5 separate regions of the Homo sapiens genome follow, and all the other regions are linked to region 4. The links are contacts of gene promoters, found by promoter capture Hi-C in blood cells and fetal thymus (Javierre and others, 2016). All regions are on one chromosome and are shown on one strand. The core of a region is centred on a gene start or on the middle of the fragment in contact, and the rest is flanking DNA. Distances in the headings are between cores, read along the strand shown.

Region 1 (2,706 bases), core at 105-2,604, 65 kb after region 4:
TTGGTAATATAAGTTATTTCTTTCTTATTTATTTATTTATTTTTAAGAGAGTTTCATTCTGTCGCCCAGGCTGGAGTGCAATGGCGCGATCTCGGCTCACTGCAACCTCTGTCTCCCAGGTTCAGGTGAGTCTCCTGCCTCAGAGTCTGGAGTAGCTGGGAATACAGGTGGCTGCCACCACGCCTGGCTAATTTTTTTGGTGCTTATTTTTAGTAAAGATGGGGTTTCACCATGTTGGCCAGGCTAACATAATACTTCTTTGTAAAAAAAGTTTTTGTAAATGTTTTATGTAAAATGTTTTATATGAGCATACATATATGTACATATATGTACATGTATGTTTATGTATTTTATATATACATAAAAATCTTGCATACATATATTTACATGTGTATATGTAAAAACAGTACATGGTGGTAATTCTGCAACTTTTTTTATCCAAAGGTATTTAAAATAGTATTATTAAAAGTGCTATGTATATTCTAATGTATGTAAATGCTGTAGAGTATCTGGCCATTTGTGGCTGATAGCTGTTTAGGTTATTTCAGGTTTGTTATCACACACAGTGCTTTATTGAATGTCATTTTTCCTCATGCATGTGTGTAGTTTTCTAGGGTGGATGTTGGGTTGTAGATGCTGGGTCATGGTGTACGTACATTTTTTCATTTACTAGGTCCTTGCCTTCCAAAGTGGCTCCACCAAGTTACACTCCCATCAGCAGCTTGTTAGAGTATCCATGTCTCCCTACCCCAGCTGACTAATGTTAGTTTGTAGCAATCTGTTATACTTTCCTTAATTTGTTGGGCTAAAAAACTGCAGAGTTTATCTTGTTTTAATTCTTGTTTCCTTGATTCCCAGTAAGGTTAAATATTTTTCCATTTGAGCATCTTTTCATATATTAACTGATCATTTGTAAATCTTATGCAGGGAATTGCCTGTTTATATCCTTTGCCCATTTTCCTATTATTTGGTCTGTTATTGATTTGTAGGAATTCTTTGAATATTCTGGATACAAATTATTTTTATATATGTGGCAGTTATCTTTAGTTTGCTGATTATTAAGATTATTATTATTTTTTTGAGACGGAGTCTCACTCTGTCTCCCAGGCTGGAGTGCAGTGGTGCGATCTCAGCTCACTGCAAGCTCCGCCTCCTGGGTTCACACCATTCTCCTGCCTCTGCCTCCCGAGTAGCTGGGACTACAGGTGCCCGCCACCACGCCTGGTTAATTTTTTGTATTTTTAGTAGAGACGGGGTTTTACCGTGTTAGCCAGGATGGTCTCAATCTCCTGACCTTGTGATCCACCCGCCTTGGCCTCCCAAAGTGCTGGGATTACAGGCGTGAGCCATCGCGCCCGGCCTGCTGATTATTCTTTAAAGCTGACAATGTCTTCGGTCATTATAGCCGTTTAAATATTTGTTGCGATCAAATTTATTGATCTTTTACTTGATGCCTTTTTCATTTTGTTTAAGGCCTTCCTGCATGATAGAGCTTACTGAAGCTACTCCCCTTTCTTAGTCATCTTCTTTCTGGAACTTAGTTCTTTCTAACTGAGCCTGACTGAGGCTGGGCGAAGCATGTGAAATGTTTTGTCATGTTTTCTTCTAGTTGGCTGTGGGAGGCTATACTTGAGGACTGGTGGAAATTTCAGCTGCACTGTGTAGATTTCAGGTGAAGGCAAACGTTGTCTGGCACAGAGGACCACAGATGAGCCTGCAGAGAAATACTCTACTAGTTTGCCGGCTCTATGTGGTTTTGGATTGTATTTCCAATGCCTAGCTTAGTACTTGGAACACACAGACAGTGAATAAATATTACTTAAAAATTTAACTTCTCCACAATAAATTTTGTGAGCTTCTGGAACTCATTGTTAGCAAAGGCTGTGGAATCTTGTCTGTGAGAATTTCTAGTAGTACCCTCATCTTTCGAGGGTGGTACACTCATGTAAACATGAGTGCAGTTGCATGAATCTCTCCCGAGTGTAGATACAAATACACACATTGCCTGCATGTGCACACACTCAGCCTTTCTAAAGTTTCCAAGCTCTTTAAAAAAACAAAAAACAAAAAACACCTGAATAGTTCAGGTTGTAGACATGAAATAAATACTCTTGAAGATGTCATTTCAAAGCAATCTATGTGCTCCTTTTCCAGCTCAGATGAGACATTGATCTTAAGGAAAGGAAAGGCAGTGCTTTTTTGGGTTAGTACAAACTGACATGGAAAACTGTTACCTTCTTTTCATAGTGATGTTGACAAATCTGCTCAAATGAATGAATTTACTCTTGAATGATTCATTTCAGGGGAAATGGCACAATCACTTCCTTATGCTAGTAGTCAGTGGCCCGCAAGAAGAGGTAAGAGTAGAGGAGGCACTCACAACTTTATCAAGATGTGAGCACTGGCTTTAACTTGCCTGAAAAAACTCTCAAGAAATCACTGATCATAAAACATACAATCTATAATTTTTTTTTTTTTTTTTTTTGAGACGGAGTCTCGCTCTGTCGCCCAGGCTGGAGTGCAGTGGCGTGATCTCGGCTCACTGCAAGCTCCGCCTCCCAGGTTCCTGCCATTCTTCTGCCTCAGCCTCCCGAGTAGCTGGGACTACAGGCGCCCACCACCACGCCCGGCTAATTTTTTGGATTTTTAGTAGAGACGGGGTTTCACCGTGTTAGCCAGGATGGTCTCGATCTCCTGACCTCGTGA
Region 2 (2,700 bases), core at 39-2,538, 98 kb before region 4:
TTTTAGGTAGCAAACAGGTTAAAATTAAGAGTTAGCTTATTTCATTTCTAAATCAGCAGCAGCAGAAAACAACAGCAAAAACAAAAAGAAAGCAATGTCACAACCATAAAATGTATAACCGAGATAATATGAAAACAATATTGCTTCTCAGGAACAAGGAGCCTGCAAAAAGCTCTGGAGCTCCCTGATTGCATGCAGTAACAACACTTTTTAAGCATCAAGTATTCAAAGATGTATTGTATATTATTTGTGGAAGCCCAGAAAGTTTCCCAAATCTTATCAGCTAAAAACAATTTAGAAGAGAACAAGCCACTGAACAATTTGGTCCCACTTCACTTTTGATTAAAAAGACCCTACTTACATAAAGAATCAATATCTAGACTATTAGGAACAACTTTTGGCAGAATATATACAGAACAGGGCAAACACTTTCTTAGAATTTTGAAGGATTCCATATAGTTCAAACTGCTCTTCCTACAAAAGAAATTAATCCTGGGCATTTTCTCTGGCACGACTGGTGGTTTATTGTAGTAGTTGATAAAAAGACCACCCTGACATTAGCAAAACATAACTGGGATCACTAAGGATAAACTCTGAAAAACACCTCAATGGGGAATAAAAAATAAAAAAATATGGCCAGGTGTGGTGGCTCACGCCTGTAAATCCCAGCACTTTCGGAGGCAGAGGCAGGTGGATCACAAGGTCAGGAGTTCAAGACCAGCCTGGCCAAGATGGTGAAACCCCGTCTCTACTAGAACTACAAAAATTAGCCTCGTGCAGTGGCAGGTGCCTGTAATCCCAGCTACTTGGGAGACTGAGGCAGGAGGATTGCTTGAACCCGGGCAGCAGACATTGCACTCCAGCCTGGGCTATAGAGTAAGACTCTGTCTCTAAATAAATAAATAAATAAATAAATAACAAAAAATAAAAAAAATATTTCCCTGGCAAAAGTAAGATATATTTGAGCCTGCAATTCCTGGTGTATCTCTCCTGACTCCTTAGGGAAAAGATTACAAGGTGTGTATGAGGAGTTGGGGAGTTTGAATGAATGGCATATGAGGTCAAACACTGAACACAAAGGAAACATTAAGGAAACATACAAATAAGCAAGCATAAACCAAGCCGATAGGATAAGGTATCTTTCTACAAAAAAACAGTACATTGCTTTGTTTTAGGTCTCAAGGGATAAACAAGGTCACTGATTAATGCAAAATAAAAAGAAACAGGGATCACAATAGTGAGACAAAAATAAAAGAGAAGGCATTTATAATACTCAACTATTAAGATTTTAAGTCATAAATTTTCATGTGCCAAACAACATATCATAGATCATCTAAGAAAAAGTGCTAGACATAGAAAAACTAAGAGAAAATAGACTGGCCAACTTTAAATTCTCTCTCTCCTTGGAGGCCTAAACCAGAAAAAAATAAATAAAATATTACATAAAAGACGAAGACTCATTCTTTATATAGTTACTGAAAGAGCTTTTCTCAACCATTTTAATCAGTCACAAAGAAAACAATTCTGAAAAGCAAAAGCTGAATAGGTAACATTCTCTGTAAACTATGCAATAACATTCAAAAGTTAACAGAGTTAGTTTATTCATTCACCAAATCTTTTGAACGTCTGTTATGCGCTGAAGATACCACAGTAAATAAAATGGATATAGTCCCTACCACTGTACAAACTTATGGTCGAGTCAGACCAGTGCTGTCTCACAGAAACATAATGAGAGCCACATGTGGTTTTCTATTTCCTAGTAGTCACATTGAAATTTAAAAATTGGCTGGGCACGGTGGCTCACGCCTGTAATCCCAAGACTTTCAGAGGCCAAGGCAGACAGATTACTTGAGCTCTAAAGTTCAAGACCGGCTGAGCGCGGTAGCTCACGCCTATAATCCCAGCACTTTGGGAGGCCACAGTGGGCGGATCACCTGAGGTCAGGTGTTCGAGACCAGCCTGGCCAATATGGCGAAACCCAGTCTCTACTTAAAATACAAAAATTAGCCAGGCGTGGTGGCACTCGCCTGTAATCCCAGCTACTCCGGAGGCTGAGGCAGGAGAATCACTTGAACCCGGGGGCTGGAGGCTGCAGTTAGCCGAGATCGTGCCACTGTACTCCAGCCTGGGCAACAGAGCGAGACTCCATCTCAAAAAAAAAGTTCAAGACCAGCCTGGGCAACACAGTGAAACCCCATCTCTACAAAAAATTTTAAAAATTTTTAAAAATTATACAGGCATGGTGGCGCGCCTGTAGTCCCAGCTACTTAGGAGGCTGAGGTGGGAGGATCCCTTGAGCCAGGGAGGTTGAGACTACAGTGAGCCAACATCACATCACTGCACTCCATCCTGGGCGACAAAGGCAACACCATGTCTCAAAAACAAACAAACAAACAAACAAAAAAAAAAAAAACAGGCCAGGCGCGGTGGTGCTCGCCTGTAGTCCCAGCTACTTGGGAAGCAGAGGCAGGAGAATCACTTGAACCCAGGAGGCAGAGGTTGCAGTGAGCCGAGATTGTGCCACTGCACTCCAGCCTGGGCAACAGAGTAAGATTCCGTCTCAAGAAAAAAAAATTTTTTTAATTAAGAAATAAAATTAACAGTAATAGTATATTTTAACACAATACATGTAAAATATCACTACTTCAATATGTAATATTTTAAAAATTGAGATATTTTCATTGTTTGGTACTAGAAATC
Region 3 (2,700 bases), core at 195-2,694, 93 kb after region 4:
ATAAACTAATTTACTGTTGGATGAAGTAGGCAGCAAATCATGAGATGGAAATTGAACAGAAACAAAAAATATCTTCCTAACTGCCCATGTCATTACTTTGGGTTAAAGCAGTCAAATCCACTGTAAAAATTTAAGTGTTCTTTGGGTGTAGTGACACAGGGAACCAGAATCACTTGTAAGAAGTCCTGTGATTAATTAAAAAACAAGAAAGAGCTAGGAAAGAAATTTTGATTTTAGTCAGAGTTTTGTGTGTATATATGTGTGCATGTGTGTGTGTATATGCATGTGCTGTGTATAAAATGGGTCATGATGTTTTTCTTACTGAGTTTCTAAAATGTTTGAAAGCCACTGATTTAGGCCTCTGCTTCTCAAGAAGGCATGCATCTATTACAGGCCTTATTGGGTAAATTTTCTTCAACTATTAATTTTACTTCAACATTTTAGCAGAAACAAACCAGAAAAACAAACATATAAACATACAAACCACACATTAGTTTTATAACAAATACAATCACAAAGGTAGCATATAGAAGATAAATAAAATTCACAAATTTTAAGGAAAAAAATTAGCTGGGCATGCTGGTGGGTGCCTGTAATCCCAGCTACTCAGGAGGCTGAGGCAGGAGAATTGCTTGAACCCAGGAGGCGGAAGTTGCAGTGAGCCAAGATCACACCATTGGACTCCAGCCTGGGGGACAGAGTGAGACTCTGACTCAAAAAAAAAAAAAAAAAAAAAAAAGGGTAATAATTTAAAGGTAAAACACAAAATATTAAAGCAAAAACTTTGCCTCTGTGGGCAGGCCTGCAGGCAGACCCTCCAGGGATTTTAACTTTCTCTGCAGTTACCTTAGTGAAAAATTTGGGAAGTACTGGTCATTTAGTGGAATTTCAAAATTCCACTAATGGATGATACAAATGAAAAGCATGATACAAATGAAAATGAAAATTTTTTGTGTTAAATTTTTTTTGATGTGCTGTTTTAGTTCCTCTGTTGATTTTTAAGCTATGTATTAAATTGTTTTTGCAGTTTCTGGAGGGATTACATCTTTTATTTAGTACAGTCTGTTTCAGATTAGTATTCATCTGACTCCAGTAAAATACAGCAACTTTGCTCTTATATAATTCCATTCTTCCTTCCCCATTTATGTTATTATTGTCATATTGAGGCAGGAAATTAAAGAAAGAAAGAAAAAAAAAAAGGGAATAAGCTTTCCTGTGCTAGGCTGACTTGTCCCAGAGGCAGCAACAAGCACAGCTGAAACCCAGGAAAAGTCTTGATAATACTATCTAAGAAGCCAGGACACAGAAGAATGTGCTCTGGAGACTCTCCCACCACTCCCTCCACATAGGGAGAAGAAAAACAAATTTCTCTTTGTTTTACAGTATGAGTTTATAGATTCCTGTTCCCTGTAACTAGTGACTTCTAGTATTCTGTTTTATCTAAGCAGTGGAGTGATGGTCATAAAGCAACTGAGCAGGCCTGAGATACGGCCACCTGGGCACCATAGTGAAGGCCATGGAATAAGCCTTGCTAGGCACTACGGCAAACTAGATAATGGCCATCTGAGTTGCATAGCAATGGTCATGTGTAATCCTGAGTTATGAACCTGTTACAATTTGATTAACCGTCTTGTCTTGCCTCTGTATCCTTGCTTTTGCTTTGCGCCAGTGTAAGCTTGACTCAAGTTAGCCCATCCCCTTTTAGAAGTGTGTATAAGCGTCAAGTGCTGTCTTTGTTCTTGGCTCAGTTTTTGGATGTTGAGTCTGCTGGGTCTGAGTGCACTCAGAAAAGATCCTCCTGGTTTACCCCGAGGTCTCTCTTGTCCTCCTAATTCACACGACAGTATAAGTTACATCTGTATGTACTATAAATCTAACAAATAGTATTATAATTATTGCTTTAAGAACTCTTATGTTTTAAAAAGGAATAGAAGAAAAGAGAAAAAACCAGTCTTTTGTGTTTACCTTCCTACTTACTGTTTCCAGTGTTCTTCATTCTTTCCTGTGAATTCAAGTTACCATCCAGTGTAATTTCCTTTTGGCCCAAAGGATTTTCTTTAGTCTTTCTCAGACAGCTCTGCCAGTAATTAATTCTCTCAGTTTTTGTTTATCTAGGAATGTCTTATTCTGCCTCTATTTTTGAAAGGGTTTTGCTGAATATGAAATTCTTAGTTGACATATGTATTTTTTTTCCTTTCAGCATGTTCAATGTTATTCTTCTGCCTTGTGGCCTCCATTGTTTCTGATGAGAAGTCATCATTCATTCTATTTTTGTATTTCCCTTTTTATAATAAGTTATTTTTCTCTTTCAGCAGTTTGACTCTGATGTGTAAAAATGTAGATTTCTTTTCTTTTTTTTTTGAGATAGAGTCTCGCTCTGTCACCAGGCTGAAGTGCAGTGACATGATCTTGGCTCACTGCAGCCTCTGCCTCCCGGGTTCAAGCAATTCTCCTGCCTCAGCCTCCCAAGTAGCTAGGACTACAGGTGTGCACTGCTACGCTTGGCTAATTTTTTTGTATTTTTAGTAGAGATGGGGTTTCACCATGTGGGCTAGGATGGTCTTGATTTCCTGACCTCGTGATCCACCCGCCGTGGCTTCCCAAAGTGCTGGGATTACAGGCATGAGCCACCGTGCCTGGCATGTGTAGATTTCTTTAGTTTTATCCTATATGGGATTTATTGAGCTTCTTGGGTCTGTA
Region 4 (2,715 bases), core at 79-2,578:
CGTGCCTGGCCCAAAGAGGGTATTTTTTTCTTCCCTCTCGGTATCATCCTTACTCAATTACAAATGATCAAGGGCGGTACTGCCAGAGTCACCTCGAGAGGCCCTGTTCTCTGCCACCCAGGCTGTTTTGTAGTCTCCATTCCAAATTGTCGTTACTCCGGTTTACCCCGTGGATGGCGTTTAAGACTTTTCTTAAATTTGAAATTCACAGAACCATTTTAAAGTGAACAATTCAGTGGCATTTAGTACCTTCGCAGTGTTGTGCAACTTCCACCTCTATCTAGCTGCAAAACATTTTCTTTTCTTTTTTTTTTTGGAGACAGAGTCTCGCTCTGTTGCCCAGACTGGAGTGCAGTGGCGTGATCTTGGCTCACTGCAACTTCTGTCTCCCGGGTTCAAGCAATTCTCCTGCCTCAGCCTCCCGAGTAGCTGGGATTACAGGCACACGCCACCCGCCTGGCTAATTTTTTGTATTTTAGTACAGACGGGGATTTACCATATTGCCCAGGCTGGTCTCAAACTCCTGAGCTCAGGCAATCCGCCCGCCTTGTCCTCCCAAAGTGCTAGGATTACAGGCGTGAGCCAACGCGGCCGGCCTTGTAAAACATTTTCATCACACAAAAGAAAACCTTCTACCCATTAAGCAGTTACTCCTTCCTCTTCTCAGCCCCTGTCAACCACCAATTTGCTTTCTATCCTATGGATTTAACTGTCTGGATATTTCATAGAAATAGAATCACATAATGTATGACCTTTTCTGTTTGGCTTCTTTCTATTAGCCTAATGTTTTTGAGGTTCATTCCTGTTGAAGCATGTATCAGTTCTTCATTCCTTTTTTGGGATGAATAATGTTCCATAATTTATTTATCCTTTCGTCTGTTGATGAACATTTGAGTTGTGTCCACATCTTGGCTATTGTGAATAGTGCTGCCATGTACATTCGTATGTAAGTATTTGAGTATCTGTTGGGTGTATACCTATGAATGGAATTGCTGGGTCTTTTGACAATTCTGTATTTAACTTTTTGAGAAACTGCCAACATTTTCACAGGGGTTGTACCATTTCACATTCCCACCAGCAATCTACAAGGATTCTAATTTCTCCACATCCTGCATTTAAGACTTGCAAAGCTGAATTAATCACAGGATGAGGAAGTGGCTTCTCTGAAACATTTTCCTCTTTCACATTTTAAACTTTCTCTTTCATACATGACATGAAACACAGCCTACGCACGAAAGTGACTAGGAGGAAGGATATTATAAAGTGATGCAAACAGAAATTCCACCAGCCTCCATGTATCATCATGTGTCATAACTCAGTCAAGCTCAGTGAGCATTCTCAGCACATTGCCTCAACAGCTTCAAGGTGAGCCAGCTCAAGACTTTGCTCTCCACCAGGCAGAAGATGACAGACTGTGAATTTGGATATATTTACAGGCTGGCTCAGGACTATCTGCAGTGCGTCCTACAGATACCACAACCTGGATCAGGTCCAAGCAAAACGTCCAGAGTGCTACAAAATGTTGCGTTCTCAGTCCAAAAAGAAGTGGAAAAGAATCTGAAGTCATGCTTGGACAATGTTAATGTTGTGTCCGTAGACACTGCCAGAACACTATTCAACCAAGTGATGGAAAAGGAGTTTGAAGACGGCATCATTAACTGGGGAAGAATTGTAACCATATTTGCATTTGAAGGTATTCTCATCAAGAAACTTCTACGACAGCAAATTGCCCCGGATGTGGATACCTATAAGGAGATTTCATATTTTGTTGCGGAGTTCATAATGAATAACACAGGAGAATGGATAAGGCAAAACGGAGGCTGGGTATGTGTGATGGAAAAATTCTTCATTGTTCTTTCCTGTGAAATAGAAATTGAGAATTTCCTTGCTAGTTAAAACAACAACAAAACACTTTACCTAAGAATACTATTTTCCTTGGGTGGTTTGTTTTAATTTTTAAAATAAAAATATACTTTCTGGCTTATTTCCAATGAATCCTTGAACTTGAACTTTATAGTTGGAAAGCACTTATGTTTTCAGTTTTTATTCTTAACAGTATAAATTACAGTAGTGAGCTTTGGGGATTAATAAAGCACCTCTCTCATGCAGCTTCACAATCAGCTGTGCACACACTCTAATCTAGTACTTAGCTTTTGCTAGGGTTGTCATGACAGTACAGACAGTACAGAAATTTCTACAATCAGCACAGAAAGTTGCTATCAGATGCTGTTATTTTTAGGTATTTATGGGTTGCAAAAGACAGGTGTAAATTTTTGTAAGTTCATCGCTTACAAATTGGTGTTTTTCAGTTTACTAATACATAATAAATAGTAACATATATTAATATATAGCAAATTACATTACATATAATATATAACACATTATTACTAATAATAAATTCCGGGCTGTTAAAGTTTGTTGATTAAAACATAATATACTGTATGACCAGCAAGAACCTTTATTCAAGAATTTTCAAATAAAAATTTACTTTATTATCAGTGCCTAAAAAAGCCAAGACTATGTAGAGGCCTGTGTTGAAACTCATGTTGGTAAAAAGCCTGACACAGCTGGATGTATATGGTTTCCTTTATATTCCAATATACTTAATAATTATTTTTTTAAAGCACTTAAGTGTTCATTGATCCTCTCTCCAACGGCCTTCACCTCTCCCAAGAGGTAACCACTGTTATCAATTATTTTGCATGCAAAACATGC
Region 5 (2,700 bases), core at 74-2,573, 110 kb after region 4:
GAGAGGATTGATTCAGTTAGCCGTCTTGGCCAACCCAAGTTAACTGTACTTCATCTTAGTCTATGTTGGTGTTAGAAACAACAAAAAGGAAAAAAAAAAGCCAAACAGTAGAGCAACAATTCATTCATTCATAAAAGTAATTACATGCCATCTAACTAATCACATGGTAAATAATTTAAATGGTTTAGAAGGGTATGAAAGAAAAAGTCCCACCCCTCTTCTTCCCAGCCTGTTCCCCAGATGTGACCACTGTTAACATACTTGTGTATCCTTCTAGATATATATATTTGTATCCTTTTAAAAAATTTATACAGATAGGATCGGAGTTCACATTTTGTTTTGCATCCTACTTTTTCACTTGTTGATAAACCATAGAACTCTTTTCATAGCAACACATATAGATTTAGCATAGTGTTTTAAGTGGTTACATAGCATTGATGTGCTCTAAGTTATTTAACCAGTCTTCTGTTGATAGCTATTTGGGTTGCTTCTGTTTTTTAGGTATTACAAATAAAAATAAAAAAGAACATCCTGATAGATATTTTTCTGCATAGTTATGCAAGTAAGTCCATGGGATCAACATCTATCCATGAAATGGCTATGAATTCTAAATTTTTATAGGTGTTTCTGTATTGCTTACTAAAAAAGGTTATGCCACTTTACGTACTCATCACCAACACATGAGAGTATGTTGACCTCTCCCTGAGTGAGTGAATGGCCGAAATAACAAATGAACGTGCATTAATGACTACCAGTTGTGTGGTAGCCTCCATGTGATGCCCTGGAAACAAAAAGATAAATAAGGGGCAGTGGTGTCTGGCCATAGGAGTTCACATTTTGTTGGGGAAGACAGGTGTATGGAGGGGGACGATGGATAAGGAGTGGTTAGGATCAAGGTTTTGGTCTTAGGTGGAGTTGAGTCTAGTTACTGACTGCTGCATACTAGCTGAGTGGACATGAGTAAACCCCTTCACCTAAGCCTCTGATCATTTGAAAATGAGGGTAATAATATCTGCTTCACTAGATTGTTTTGAAGATTAAATAGGAAATTTACATAAAGCTTTTAGTACAATGCCAGTGCATATAAGTGCTTGATGATGATGATGACGACGATGACTATTCCACATGAACTAGTGATTTCAGTCCTGGTGCTAAGGATCCCATTGGGATGTGCCCAGAGTGCTCTGGGAACACAAGATGGAGATTTCTCTTTGCCTAAAGTGCATGAGAAGGCTTCAGAAGGGAAGTTGTAATTAAGTCTTTAACTTTGAATAGTGGTTTGCCATGAGGTTGTATCAGAAGGAAACATACCCCTTTTAATAAGTCTCTCAAGAAAGTACACTGTAACCGGAAACCTCATTAATATATTGAAAAAGTTATTCTCAGAAGAAATTCATTGTGGGCATCTGTGTGAATTTTCAACCTTGGAAGTAACTTAATTTTGTCTTATCAGTATTTCTGGTTTTGTTTTGAAGTACTAATCAAAAAAAAAATCCTTAAATTTTAATTTCTCCTTGCTTCTTTGAAAAGTTATAATGGTTAAAATACACTACTTATGAAAATTTCAAAATATATACTAAGCTTTCTAAAATGTTTTTTAACCTTTCTAATTCATCTTTTGTAAAGTGCTGTTCTTTGCCCCATTTCTTTCCGGGAATTTATCTTTCTCTTGGTATTCATTTATTTTTTTCCAGGTTGGTAACAATTCTTTATATATTAAAAGATTAACCATTAGTCTGTCATGTATGCTGCAAATAATTTGTATCCATTTTTTTTTTTTTGAGATGGAGTCTCGCTCTGTTGCCCAGGCTGGAGTGCAGTGGTGCGATCTCTGTTCACTGCAAGCTCTGCCTCCTGGGTTCACGCCATTCTCCTGCCTCAGCCTCCCGAGTAGCTGAGACAACAGGCACCCGACACCACACCCGGCTAATTTTTTGTATTTTTGGTAGAGGCAGGGTTTCACCATGTTAGCCAGGATGGTCTCCATCTCCTGACCTCGTGATTTGCCCACCTCGGCCTCCCAAAGTGCTAGGATTACAGGCGTGAGCCACCACGCCTGGCCAATTTGTATTCATTTTTAAACCTTTTTCTTAACTTTTTGTATTTTGAGGGCGAGGATACAGATGTTTTAAAATGTTATTAGTAAAGTTTATTAATGTTTTCTTTTAGGATTTTTGCCTTTGGCTTTATTTTTAGGAGTTCTTACTTCACTTGAGTTTATATAAATCATCATCATTTTATCTTAGTATTTTGTGTTTTTAAATATTAAAGTCTTAATCCTTTTTGAATTTTTATTTGAATCCCTATGTATACAGGGAGAGAAAATAAGGGTTTTTTTTTTTTTTTTTTTTTGACATGTATTCTCTCTCTGTCTTCCAGCCTGGAGTGCAGTGGCACAATCTTGGCTCACTGCAACCTCTGCCTCCTGGGTTCAAGCAATTCTTCTGCCTCAATCTCCCGAGTAGCTGGGATTACAGGCTCCCGCCATTATGCCTGGCTAATTTTTGTATTTTTAGAAGAGACGGGCCTTCACCATGTTGGCCAAGCTGGTCTCGAACTTCTGACCTCAGGTGATCTGCCCGCCTCGGCCTCCCAAAGTGCTGGGGTTACAGGCATGAGCCATTGCCCCTGGCTGAGAATATGTTTTATAAAGAAATGTTAGCCAGGTGTCCGAACACATTTAATGAGTAATCTACCCTT

Evidence for each region. Contacts are between HindIII fragments. The CHiCAGO score rates a contact against its expected background, and 5 or more counts as called.
Region 1: a contact is called between a fragment that was not itself captured here and the fragment with the promoter of BCL2A1 in region 4, in 3 of 17 cell types (monocytes, neutrophils and total B cells). The highest score is 12.1, in monocytes.
Region 2: a contact is called between a fragment that was not itself captured here and the fragment with the promoter of BCL2A1 in region 4, in 1 of 17 cell types (neutrophils). The highest score is 6.8, in neutrophils.
Region 3: a contact is called between a fragment that was not itself captured here and the fragment with the promoter of BCL2A1 in region 4, in 3 of 17 cell types (neutrophils, monocytes and activated CD4 T cells). The highest score is 7.1, in neutrophils.
Region 5: a contact is called between a fragment that was not itself captured here and the fragment with the promoter of BCL2A1 in region 4, in 6 of 17 cell types (activated CD4 T cells, neutrophils, total CD8 T cells and 3 more). The highest score is 7.5, in activated CD4 T cells.

Annotation. Positions count from the first base shown.
Region 1 is chr15:79,905,048-79,907,753 of GRCh38, reverse strand. It overlaps ST20-MTHFS (ST20-MTHFS readthrough), which reads left to right. Exons shown (of 4, transcript NM_001199760.2): 2 at 70-125. The coding sequence starts at 81. It overlaps ST20 (suppressor of tumorigenicity 20), which reads left to right. Exons shown (of 3, transcript NR_037653.2): 2 at 48-125. Among named protein-coding and RNA genes, the nearest start is that of MTHFS, 9.4 kb to the right of the region's middle. The HindIII fragment of the contact is 6,214 bases long and covers 1-2,706 here.
Region 2 is chr15:80,067,842-80,070,541 of GRCh38, reverse strand. The region is part of intron 1 of ZFAND6 (zinc finger AN1-type containing 6); the gene reads right to left. Among named protein-coding and RNA genes, the nearest start is that of ZFAND6, 9.5 kb to the right of the region's middle. The HindIII fragment of the contact is 4,201 bases long and covers 1-2,700 here.
Region 3 is chr15:79,877,361-79,880,060 of GRCh38, reverse strand. All of the region lies in intron 3 of ST20-MTHFS (ST20-MTHFS readthrough), which reads left to right. All of the region lies in intron 2 of MTHFS (methenyltetrahydrofolate synthetase), which reads left to right. Among named protein-coding and RNA genes, the nearest start is that of MTHFS, 18 kb to the left of the region's middle. The HindIII fragment of the contact is 467 bases long and covers 1,211-1,677 here.
Region 4 is chr15:79,969,809-79,972,523 of GRCh38, reverse strand. BCL2A1 (BCL2 related protein A1) reads left to right here and starts at 1,328. Exons shown (of 2, transcript NM_004049.4): 1 at 1,328-1,824. The coding sequence starts at 1,405. RefSeq lists an enhancer at 705-1,904. The HindIII fragment of the contact is 17,831 bases long and covers 1-2,715 here.
Region 5 is chr15:79,859,470-79,862,169 of GRCh38, reverse strand. All of the region lies in intron 3 of ST20-MTHFS (ST20-MTHFS readthrough), which reads left to right. All of the region lies in intron 2 of MTHFS (methenyltetrahydrofolate synthetase), which reads left to right. Among named protein-coding and RNA genes, the nearest start is that of MTHFS, 36 kb to the left of the region's middle. The HindIII fragment of the contact is 521 bases long and covers 1,063-1,583 here.